Regions from separate parts of the Homo sapiens genome. Here region 2 is linked to region 1. The links are contacts of gene promoters, found by promoter capture Hi-C in human tissues and cell types (Jung and others, 2019). All regions are on one chromosome and are shown on one strand. Each heading gives the region's core, a stretch centred on a gene start or on the middle of the fragment in contact. The rest is flanking DNA. Distances are from core to core; before and after follow the strand shown. Region 1 holds the start of DYNLRB1 (dynein light chain roadblock-type 1). Region 2 has its middle 37 kb from the start of ASIP.

What was found. The method cuts DNA at HindIII sites, captures the fragments that hold promoters and counts their contacts. A contact is called where the count stands out against the background at its distance.
Region 2: a fragment that was not itself captured here is called in contact with the fragment with the promoter of DYNLRB1 in region 1 in 2 of the 25 tissues and cell types used here (IMR-90 fibroblasts and heart left ventricle).

Annotation. Positions count from the first base shown.
Region 1 is chr20:34,514,129-34,519,782 of GRCh38, reverse strand. DYNLRB1 (dynein light chain roadblock-type 1) reads right to left here and starts at 3,361. Exons shown (of 4, transcript NM_014183.4): 1 at 3,322-3,361. The coding sequence starts at 3,324. RefSeq lists enhancers at 2,830-3,009, 2,676-3,541, 3,930-4,169, 4,280-4,339 and a silencer at 3,360-3,469. The HindIII fragment of the contact is 11,693 bases long and covers 2,089-5,654 here.
Region 2 is chr20:34,201,751-34,207,404 of GRCh38, reverse strand. It overlaps a transcript of ASIP not described here. Among named protein-coding and RNA genes, the nearest start is that of ASIP, 37 kb to the left of the region's middle. The HindIII fragment of the contact is 6,854 bases long and covers 1-5,654 here.

The sequences.
Region 1 (5,654 bases), core at 2,112-4,611:
AAAAGTGCCACTTGTAGAAATCTATCCTACATAACCACTAGCATGAGTGCAAAAAAGACAAGAACAGTTACTGCAGCAGTGTCTGGAATAAAAAAACTATACACCACCTAAATGTACATATGGGACTAGGATACGATACAGACCTTAAAAAGAATGAAGTGGACCTGCATATAATAACACAGAAAAATGTGTGATATTTTTAAGTGAACAGAACAAGTTGCAGAATAAGATATATACATATATATCTTAAAGTCAACTTCTGTTTTCTCTTATTTTTTTCTCACCCAGGGTGGAGTGCAGTGGTGCAGTCACGGCTCACTGTAGCCTTGACCTCCTGGGCTCAGGCGATCTCTCCACTTCAGCCTTAAAGTAAAGTTAACATATACAAATATATATATATTCCAGTTTCATCTAATAAACAGCTTATACATAAATGTGCTTATGCACCAAACACATCTGGAAGGAAACACACCCAACTGCCAACAGAAGTTGCCACGGGGTAGTAAGATGGGGACCACATAAACTTTCTATATTATATCCTCTGGTACTGCTTCAAATTGTTAACATACATGGTGGTTTACGCCCATAATCCCAGCATTTTTGGAGGCGGAGGTGGGCGGATCACCTGAGGTCATGAGTTTGAGACCAGCCTGGTCAACATGGTGAAACCCTGTCTCTACTAAAAATAGAAAAAAAACCCTGTCTCTACCAAAAATAGAAAAATTAGCCAGGCATGGTGGCATGCTCCTGCAGTCCCAGCTACTCCGGAGGCTGAGGCAGGAGAATCACTCGAACCCGGGAGGCAGAGGTTGCAGTGAGCTCAGATCACACCACTGCACTCCAGCCTGGGCGAAAGGGCAAGACTCTGTTTCAAAAGAAAAAAAAAAAAAGTTAAACTAGGCATCTAAATTTGCATTGCTTTTATGAGTATAACCACGGAGTAGCATAATACAGGTTCTAGAAAGCTACAGTTTAAGTAAGAAAAAGGGGGGCCATATAAGTGCTTGTATAGATGCATAAGAAACTAACAGCTGGGTGTGGTGGCTCACGCCTGTAATCCTAACACTTTGGGAGGCCAACGTGGGTGAATCACTTGAGCCCAGGAGTTCAAGACCAGCCTGGGCAACATGGCAAAACCCCAACTCTACAAAAAAAAAATACAAAAAAATTAGCAGGGTGTGGTGGCGTGCACCAGTAGTCCCAGATACTTGGGGAATTAAGGCAGGAGGATCACTTGAGCCCAGGAGGGTCAAGTTTGCAAGAAAAAAAAAAAAAGAAACTAACAATGGTTGTTTCTAAAGGAGGAGAGACTGAGACTGGGGGTTAGGAGAGTGGGAATTTTATTTTTCACTTAGATCCTTTTACATCATTTATTTTTTTACTGTGTGCAAGTATTACCTGTAAACAATCCTAAAATTCGTATGGAACCACAAAAGACTCAGAAAAGCCAAAAGAAGCCTGGACGAAAAGAACAAAGCTTGAGGTATCACACTACCTGATTTCAAAATATACCAGAAAGGTATAGTAACCAAAAGAGCATGGTATTGGTATAAAACACAGACCAATGGAATAGAATAGAGGACCCAGAAATAAATCCACTTATTTACGGCCAACTGATTTTCGACAAAGGCATCGAAAAAACAAAACAAAACAAAAACAACAACAAAAACGAAAAAAAAAACCTACCATAAATCAGCAATACCACTACTGGGTATTTATTCAAAGGAACGGAAATTAGTACATCAAAGGCATCCCTACATCCTCATGTTCATATTGCAGCACTATTCATAATAGCTAAATTATGGAATTAGCGTCCATCAATAGGTAAATGGATAAAGAAAATGTGGGCCAGGCGTGGTGGCTCACGCCTGTAATCCCAGCACTTTGGGAGGCTGAGGCGAGCAGATCACGAGGTCAGGAGATCGAGACCACCGTGTTGAGGCGGACTAACACGGTGAAACCCCGTCTCTACTAAAAATACAAAAAATTAGCTGGGCGTGGTGGTGGGCGCCTGTAGTCCCAGCTACTCGGGAGGCTGAGGCGGGAGAATCACTTGAACCTGGGAGGCGGAGGTGGCAGTGAACTAAGATGGTGCCACTGCACTCCAGCCTGAGCGACAGAGACACACTCCATCTCAAAAAAAAAAAAAAAAAAAGAAATAATGAATGTTTAAGGTGATGGATATTCTATAATAAATATAGCCTGATTTGATCATTACACATCATATGCATGTATCAAAATATTACATGTATATCTACAACATAAATGTGTACAACTATTATATATCAATTTTTTTTACAGCTTAAGAAGTGATGTGAAAAATGAAGTTATACATATTTGAAGCATTATTACATGTTTGTAATGATGTGGAGATATTGTGGTGTAATAATGAAAAACACAGAACCCACAATTGCACATTCAATAGGGGCTAAACTGTATAAACCAAAAACAAGCAAAAAAGACTAGAAGTCATATGACTACTGTAAGTGGTTGCCTCTAGGTGATGACACGGTTTCTTTTTTCAATTTTTTTATTACAAGCTCTAGATTTCTAAATAAGATTTTTGAAAAAGTAATATATTCACATGGCTTAAAATTTGAAACTTTTTCAAATTTTGCCCAAGCTGTGAGGATTACAAACACAAAACCTGTAACGGCGTTGAGAACCCACAGCTGCAGCAAGCAAGGTAGAAAGCAAGCTTTGGGATCCCCAAGAGCAGACCCCGCCCGTTCCTGACTCTGGCACCCAGTCCCAGCGGCTAGAAAGAACCACGCCGACAGAGTGGCGGCCGTCAAGCTTCTAGGGTTCAAATCCATCTCCACTATTTCCTGGGGCAAAGCACTTGGCTTCTCGGGGCGCTGAATAACAGATATGTATAACAAAATGGGACTAAAGATTGTATCTACCTCACAGAGCTGGGAGGAGGCGGAGGAAATACAAGATACATAAAGTGCTTGGCAGAGCCTGCCACAAACTGAGCTCCCGGGAAACGTTGCCAGGGTTGCCATCGCGCACCAAGGCCCCAAAACTCTAGGCTGCAGGGCCGCCGCCCACCCCTCGCCCATCATCTCTTCCTGGCCGAGGCTGGGCTCCCGCTTCCGGTCAAGGGGCAGCGGGATCCGGCGGCCCCGCCTCGGTCAGGCTTTAGAGGCCTCCGCCGCCGGGTTCCACCCTCAAGTCGGCTGGGGCCCGGGCCCGGCCACGCCCAGCCACCACCGATTCCCTGTCCGGAGCTCTGAGATCCCCTCATCCTCGGAAGACTGAAGGCCTGGCGTGGGGTGGTGGGCGGCCGCCAGCCACAAGACCCCGGCGCACGCTCACCATTTCCGACCGATCCGGTAGCCCCGCGTAGCGAACACTTAGCGAGTCCTGTGCCTTTCTGCGCCTGCGCAAAGGTTTCTGTCAAAACGGACAGCTCTAGCTGCCTATCAGGAGCCAGCGTGAGGCGGGGGCGGGCGAGCCGATCTTGGCTCCGCCAGGATTCTTGGAAAATCTGCTTTCCACTGTGGCAAAGCGAAAAGCTAAGGAGCAGTGCGCTAAGCTGTGGAAAATTCCCAACTCCAGCCGTGCAGAAAAGATGCTGGTTCTGGCTGGACGCGGTGGCTTACGCCTGTAATTCCAGCACTTTGGGAGGCCGAGTCGGAAGGATTGCTTGAGCCCAAGAGTTCGAGACCAGCCTGGGCAACATGGAGAGACCCCTTCTCTACTAAAAAATAAACAAAATTAGCCGGGCGTGGTGGCGCGCTCGTGTAGTTCCAGTTACTCCAGAGGCTGAGGTAGGAGGATCGCCTGACCAGGAGTTCGAGGCTGCAGTGAGCCGAGATTGCGCCACTGCACCCCAGCCTGGGCGACAGAGCAAGAGACCCTGACTAAAACAAAACAAAACAAAAACCATGCTGGTTCTCGGTATCGGAAGAGGCTTTCAGTGCTGGTTCTCGGTATCGGAAGAGGCTTTCAGCTCTCAATGGAGGTCTAAGCTGGTTCTGGAGTCCCTGAGTGGAGCGTGGTGGGAGGGTATGAAGGCAAGTGGGACGGTTGCTGAGACCCGCTTTGCGCCCAGACTGAGCCAGAGAGAGGCCCAGGGCCAAAATGCGCTTCGGGATCGGGCAGGCCTGGGGTGGGGCTGGAGTCAGGTACCTCGAGTCTCCGGGTAAGATGCCGTGCAAGCTCGGAGATGAATTGGTTAGGGCTGGCCTGGGAGTCTTTAGAATCCGAGCTCAGCCCCGCCTCGCGTTACCTAGCAGAAGGCACTTCACATCTGTGTGTTCTGTCTTGTTCTCACCTCTGAAAGGGGGACTCTTCCCAGAGCCCTATGTTGTCCTGTTCCGGCAGGCCGCAAACGTTTCTGGGTCCTCTAGGAGTAAATAACTTCTGTTAAAACATGCTGCCGTTTAGTGAACCCTGTGCCACATTACTGTGCTGAACACGCACATAACGTTATCTCCGGTAGCTTCAGGGAAGTATCGGTAACCTCGATACTTTATAAATGCTGTTTCTCCCAGGCACTGTAGCTTGCTGGATTCAACGATGATCTAACTCCAAAGTTTCATTCCACAGTAGCTGCTCTTCAGTGAGGAAGGATTTGGTTCTCCTTCCAGGAGTGTCTGCATGTTAAGAGGATTGACTTTACTGCGAAGAAACCTAGCAGACACCACCGTAACCAGATCAAAGTTAGTATTACTGGCAAGGGGAGATATTGATGCCGTGTGCCCCGATAAAAATGCGTTAAGGGCACATCACCTCCGAGTCATTTTCCACAAAAACTCCCAGCCTTAAACCATGAGAAAATTTCACTAAATCCAGTGTGAGGGATGTTCTACAAGATACCTGTACCCCGCCCCCGCCCCCCAAAATCTCAAAGTCATGAAAGCAAGGAATGAATGCGGAACTGTCACAGATTAGAGGAGTAAGGAGAAAGAAAAATAACATGGGTGGGAAAATTGGTGAAATCTGAGTAAGGGCTGTAGTTTAGTGTTATTTTTACCAGTGTTAATTTATTAGTTTTGGTAATTCTAGCATGGTTATATGGGATCATAACATTGGAGAAAGCTGGGTGAAGACTGTGCAGGAACTCTTAACCATTTTTGCAACAGCTCTGTAAATGTAAAATTATTTCAAAATAAATTTTTAAAAGGACTGGATCCAAAGGAATTTCTATTGAATGCTGGAAACATTAGGAAAGCATTTAGCAAGGGGAAGAAGTGCTGCAGAGACTGGACCCTAAAACATCCTGGAAGATAAGCACTGGAAGAATCACCACTGTCTTGCCCATGGAGAACCAGACTGAGAGGAGTGAAAGGATTTTAACAGATTACAATCCCAGAAGCAAAAAAGAGAATGGCCAATAGTTCATGTGACAGGAGCCAAAATGAGAATGAAGGAGGAGCTGGAATAGGACCAAGAATGTCCCGGAGTGGCAGGCTTAGAGTTTTGGCCCGGCGCAGTGGCTCACACCTGTAATCTCAGCACTTTGGGAGGCCAAGGTGGGCGGATCACGAGGTCAGGAGTTCGAGACCAGTCTGGCCAACATAGTGAAAGCCCCTCTACTAAAAATACACAAAAAATTAGCCGGGGGTGGTGGTGTGCGCCTGTAACCCCAGCTATTCGGGAGGCTGAGGCAGGAGAATCGCGTGAACCCAGGAGGCGGCGGTTGC
Region 2 (5,654 bases), core at 1,768-4,267, 310 kb after region 1:
TCAACTCACTGGTTTAAAAAAATCCAATTTAAAAATGAACAGGCATTTCTCAAAAGAAGGCATACAAAGGGCCAACAGGCATATGAGTAAATAGTCAATATCACTAATCATCAGGGAAATACAAATCAAAACCACAGTGAGATTTCATCTCATCTCCAGTTAAAATGGCTATTATCAGAAAAGATAGAAAATATCAGCAGTAATGTTTGGGAAGAAGGAAAAGAAATTTAAAAAAATAACAAATGCTGGTAAGGATGCAGAGAAAGGGGGATGCTTGTATTCTGTTAACGGGAATATAAATTAATACAGTCACTATGGAAAACAATATAGAGATTCCTCAAAAAACTAAAAATAGAACTACCATATGATCCAGCAATCTCACTGATAGGTATATTTCCAAAAGAAAGGAATTCAGTGTATCAAAAAAATATCTGCACTCCCATGTTTATTGCAGCCCTATTCACAATAACGAAGATATGAAATCAACCTAACTGTCCATCAACAAATGAATGGATTTAAAAAACGTGGTATATGGGCCAGGCATGGTGGCTAATCCCAGCACTTTGTGAGGTCGAGGCAGGTGGATCACGAGGTCAGGAGAAGTTTGAGACCAGCCTGGCCAATGTAGTGAAATCCTGTCTTTACTAAAGATACAAAAATTAGCCAGGCGTGGTGGCTTGCACCTGTAGTCCCAGCTACTCTTGAGGCTGAGGCAAAAGAATTGCTTGAACCCAGGAGGCGGAGATTGCAGTGAGCCAAGATTGCACCACTGCACTCCAGCCTAGGTGACAGAGCGAGACTTTGTCTCAAAAAACAAAAACAAAAACAAAAACAAAAAAGTGGTATATGTATACAGTGGAATATTATTCTGCCATAAAAAAGAATGAAATTCTGTCATTTGCAACAATATAGATGGAACTGGAGGTCATCATTAAGTTAGATAAGGCAAACACAGAAAGATAAATGTCACATATTCTTACTCACGTGGAGTTAAAAAAATCGATATCAGAAAGGTAGTGAATGGAATGGTGTTTTTGAGAAGGTGGGAAGGGTAGTAGGGAGGAAGATATAAAGTAGGGTTGGTTAATGAATACAAAAATACAATTCGAGGCCGGGCGTGGTAGCTCATGCCTGCAATCCCAGACTTTGGGAGGCTGAGGCAGGCAGATCACTTGAGGCCAGGAGTTCAAGACCAGTCCGGCCAACATAGTGAAACCCCGTCTCTACTAAAAATACAAAAAAAAATTATCTTGGTATAGAGGCGGGCACCTGTAGTCCCAGCTACTTGGGAGACTGAGGCAGGAGAATTGCTTGAACCTGGGAGGCAGAGGTTGCAGTGAGGTGAGATGGTGCCACTGCACTCCAGCCTGGGTGACAGAGCAAGACTCTGTCTCAAAAATCAAAACAAAACAAAATACAATTAGAATAGAAGAAATAAGACCTTGTGAGAGGTGAAGCTGGCTGGGCTTCTGGGTTGGGTGGGGACTTGGAGAACTTTTCTGTCTAGCTAAAGGATTGTAAATGCACCAATCAGCACTCTGTGTCTAGCTAAAGGTTTGTAAATGCACCAATCAGCGCTCTGTGTCTAGCTAATTGGGTGGGGACTTGGAGAACTTTTTTGTCTAGCTAAAGTATTGTAAATGCACCAATCAACACTCTGTGTCTAGCTAAAGGATTGTAAAAGCACCAATCAGCACTCTGTAAAACGGCAAAATCAGCGCTCTGTAAAATGGAGAAATCAGCGCTCTGTAAAATAGACCAAGCGACAGGATGTGGGTGGGGCCAAATAAGGGAATAAAAGCAGGCAACCAGAGCCAGTAGCAGCAACCCGTTTGGGTCCCCTTCCACGCTGTGGAAGCTTTGTTCTTTCGCTCTTCGCAATAAATCTTGCTGCTGCTCACCCTTTGGGTCTGCACTACCTTTATAAGCTGTAACACTCACCGAGAAGGTCTGCAGCTTCACTCCTGAAGCCAGCGAGACCACGAGCCCAGCGGGAGGAATGAACAACTCCGGATGCGCCGCCTCTATGAGCTGTAACACTCACCACGAAGGTCTGCAGCTTCACTCCTGAAGCCAGTGAGACCACAAACCCATTGGGAGGAATGAACAGCTCTGGACGTGATGCCTTTAAGAGCTGTAACACTCACTGTGAAGGTCTGCAGCTTCACTCCTGAAGTCGGCAAGACCACGAACCCACCAGAAGGAAGAAACTCCGGACACATCTGAACAACTGAAGGAACAAACTCCGGACACACCATCTTTAAGAACTGTAACACTCACCGTGAGGGTCCATGGCTTCATTCTTGAAGTCAGCGAGACCAAGAACCCACCAATTCCAGGCACACTTGTACTTGGTAGCACAATAGGGTGAGTATAATTAAGTATAATTTATTGTACCTTTCAAAATAACTAGAAGAGTAGATTTGGAATGTTCCCAACACAAATAAATGATAAATGCTTGAGGTGATGGATATTCCATTATCCTGATTTGATCATTACACATTATATGCTTGTATCAAAGTATCACATGTACCACATAAATTGTACAACTATTACCTATCCATAAAAATAGAAAATAAATAAAATGAATAAAGTGTAAAAATCACAGGCTCATTTTAACTGATGAGAAAAATACATTTCATAAAATTCACCATCTGTTAATGTTTAAAAATTATATCAAACTAGAATTAGAAGAAAAATTCCTCAATCTGATAAAGAGTAACTACAAAAAGTAAACTCCAGCAACCATCATATTTAACTGAAATTATTGAGTGCTTTCTTTCTATCAGAACTAAGATAAGGATGCCTGCTATTTTCACTTTTATTCATCATTGTTCTTAAGGTTTTACCCAGTCCAATAATTCAAGAAAAAGAAGTTAAAAAACGGGCCAGGAGCAGTGGCTCACACCTGTAATCCCAGCACTTTGGGAGGCCAAAGTGGGTAGATCACCTGAGGTCAGGAGTTCAAGATCAGCCTAACCAACATGGAGAAACCCCATTTTTACTAAAAATACAAAATTAGCCAGCATGGTGGCGTGTGCCTATAATCCCAGCTACTCGGAAGGCTGAGGCAGGAGAATCGCTTTAACCCACGAGGCGGAGGTTGCGGCGAGCCAAGATTGCACCATTGCACTCCAGCCTGGACAACAAGTGCAAAACTCCGTCTCAAAAAAAAAAAAAAATTAAAAAAATAACTATCTGAAAGAAATCACTACACACACTACACATACTACATGATTGTGAATCTATAAATAAACTATAAGAATTATTAAGTTAATTAAGCAGGGTTGCTGTATGCAAGTATAAATACAAAATTTTAATTATTATGTCAATATGCCAGCATCAAACAACTAAAAATGAACATTAAAATATGCCATTTATGGCCGGGCGTGGTGGCTCACGCCTGTAATCCCAGAACTTTGAGGCCAAGGCAGGTGGATCACCTGAGGTCAGGAGTTCGAGACCAGCCTGGCCAACATGGTGAAACAACCCCATCTCTACTAAAAATACAAAATTAGCCGGGTATGGTGGCGTGTGCCTGTAATCCCAGCTACTTGGGAGGCTAAGGCAGGAAAATTGCTTGAACCTAGGAGGCAGAGGTTGCAGTGAGGCAGGATCGTGCCATTGCACTCCAGCCTGGGCAAAAAAGAGCGAAACTCCATCTCAAAAAATAAATAAATAAATAAAATTAAAATACGCCACTTATAAGGCTGGGTGCATTGGCTCATGCCTGTAATCTCAGCACTTTGGGAGGCCGAGGTGGGAGGATCACTTGAAGTTAGGCGTTCGAGACCAGCCAGGCCAACGTGGCGAAACCCTGTCTCTACAATAATGCAAAGATTAGCCACGTGTGGTGGCAGGTGCCTGTAATCCCAGCTCCTTGGGAGGCTGAGGCATGAGAATCACTTGAACCCAGGAGGCAGAGGTTGCAGTGTGCCAAAATCATGCCACTGCACTCCAGCTTGAGTGACAGAGTGAAACCGTGTCTCAAAAAATATATATATAATATACATATATATATGCCACTTATAAAATAAATAGAAAATAATTGGGAATAAATCCAATGAATAATATACCAGGTTTCTACATAGAAAACTATAAAACATCAAAAAATTTTAATAAGACTTCAACTAGTGAAGGGATATACCATATTCATGGATAAAAAAATTTAATATTGTAAAGACTTTCATATTAATTGATGGACAGATTTAATGTAATCCCAATAAAAATTCCAGCAGGGTTTTTTTTGGTAGAATTTATAAAGTTATCCTAAAGTTTATGTGGAAATATAGAAGTTCAAGAATAGCCAAGGCTCACGCCTGTAATCCCAGCACTTTGGGAGGCCGAGGCAGGCAGATCATGAGGTCAGGAGATTGACACCATCCTGGCTAACGCGGTGAAACCCCGTCGCTACTAAAAATACAAAAAATTAGCCGGGCGTAGTGGCGGGCGCCTGTGGTCCCAGCTACTCGGGAGGCTGAGGCAGGAGAATGGCGTGAACCTGGGAGGCGGAGCTTGCAGTGAGCCGAGATCATGCCGCTGCACTCCAGCCTGGGCAACAGAGCAAGACTCCATCTCGAAAAAAAAAAAAAAAAAAAAAAAAGAATAGCCAAGGCAATCTTGGGGAAGATGAGAGGCATGAAGGACTTATTCTACCAAATATCAAAACTTATTGCAAAGTTACAGGAAATGGAAACAGGGTGCAAGTGGCAGAAAGACAGACTAATGGACAAATGGAAAAGAATGGAGATTCCAGAACAACACACACATATTAGATAGACAATGGATTAATAATAAAAGTGGGAAATTAATAGTGTTTTCGGTACATGATGCTGGATTGATTGAATATCCATACAGAAAAAAAAGGGAAACTTGACCTCACATCATACCTGAAAATCAATTCCAGGTGGAACAACATTGCCAGAACTACATTGCCATTCACCACAATTCATTTAAATTATTTAAAAGTAAATAAAATTTAAAATTCATTTCATCATATGTACTGTTTCAGACAAGATTGACACAATCATTTTGGAAAACTGACAATATCTGTAAAATATTTCAGGGTGGTATGGCCGTAGACCATATGTAGTATTTCAATTGCTCAATAGCCATATGTGGCTAGTGCTATTTCAAGCGCTCAGTAGCCATTCAGTGGCTACATGTTGGACAATGCAGGTATCGAATATTTCCATTATTGCAGAAAGTTCAAGTGGACAGTGCTTGCTGTTCTAGAAGATATAAGATAGAATATCTTTAAGACTGGGTAAAACAAAATTTGTTATAAGGGATTTTAAAAAGGCACTAATCTTTTTTTTTTTTTTTACAATTTTATCATTATTTTAATCAAGTAACTTAGCTGTTTGAAACAAATCCTTAAGACAGTTCAATAGAACAAAATGAAGAATTACTCTATTAGGATAACCTGTGAACAAAGTTCAGATTATGTGAATTTGAATTCCATTGGAAGTTTGGCACCAGACTGAACACTGTTCTAAGTCAAAATTTTTAGTGTTCTAGAAGCCCTGAACATGTTTTCTCTCAGATTAAAAGTAGAAGCTTTATAACAGAACCTCATTAGCTTGACACTGAGTATGTTGAATGCAACTTAGCTTAGGTCACCAGTATCTCCTACAAAATTCCAGTTAGTGAAA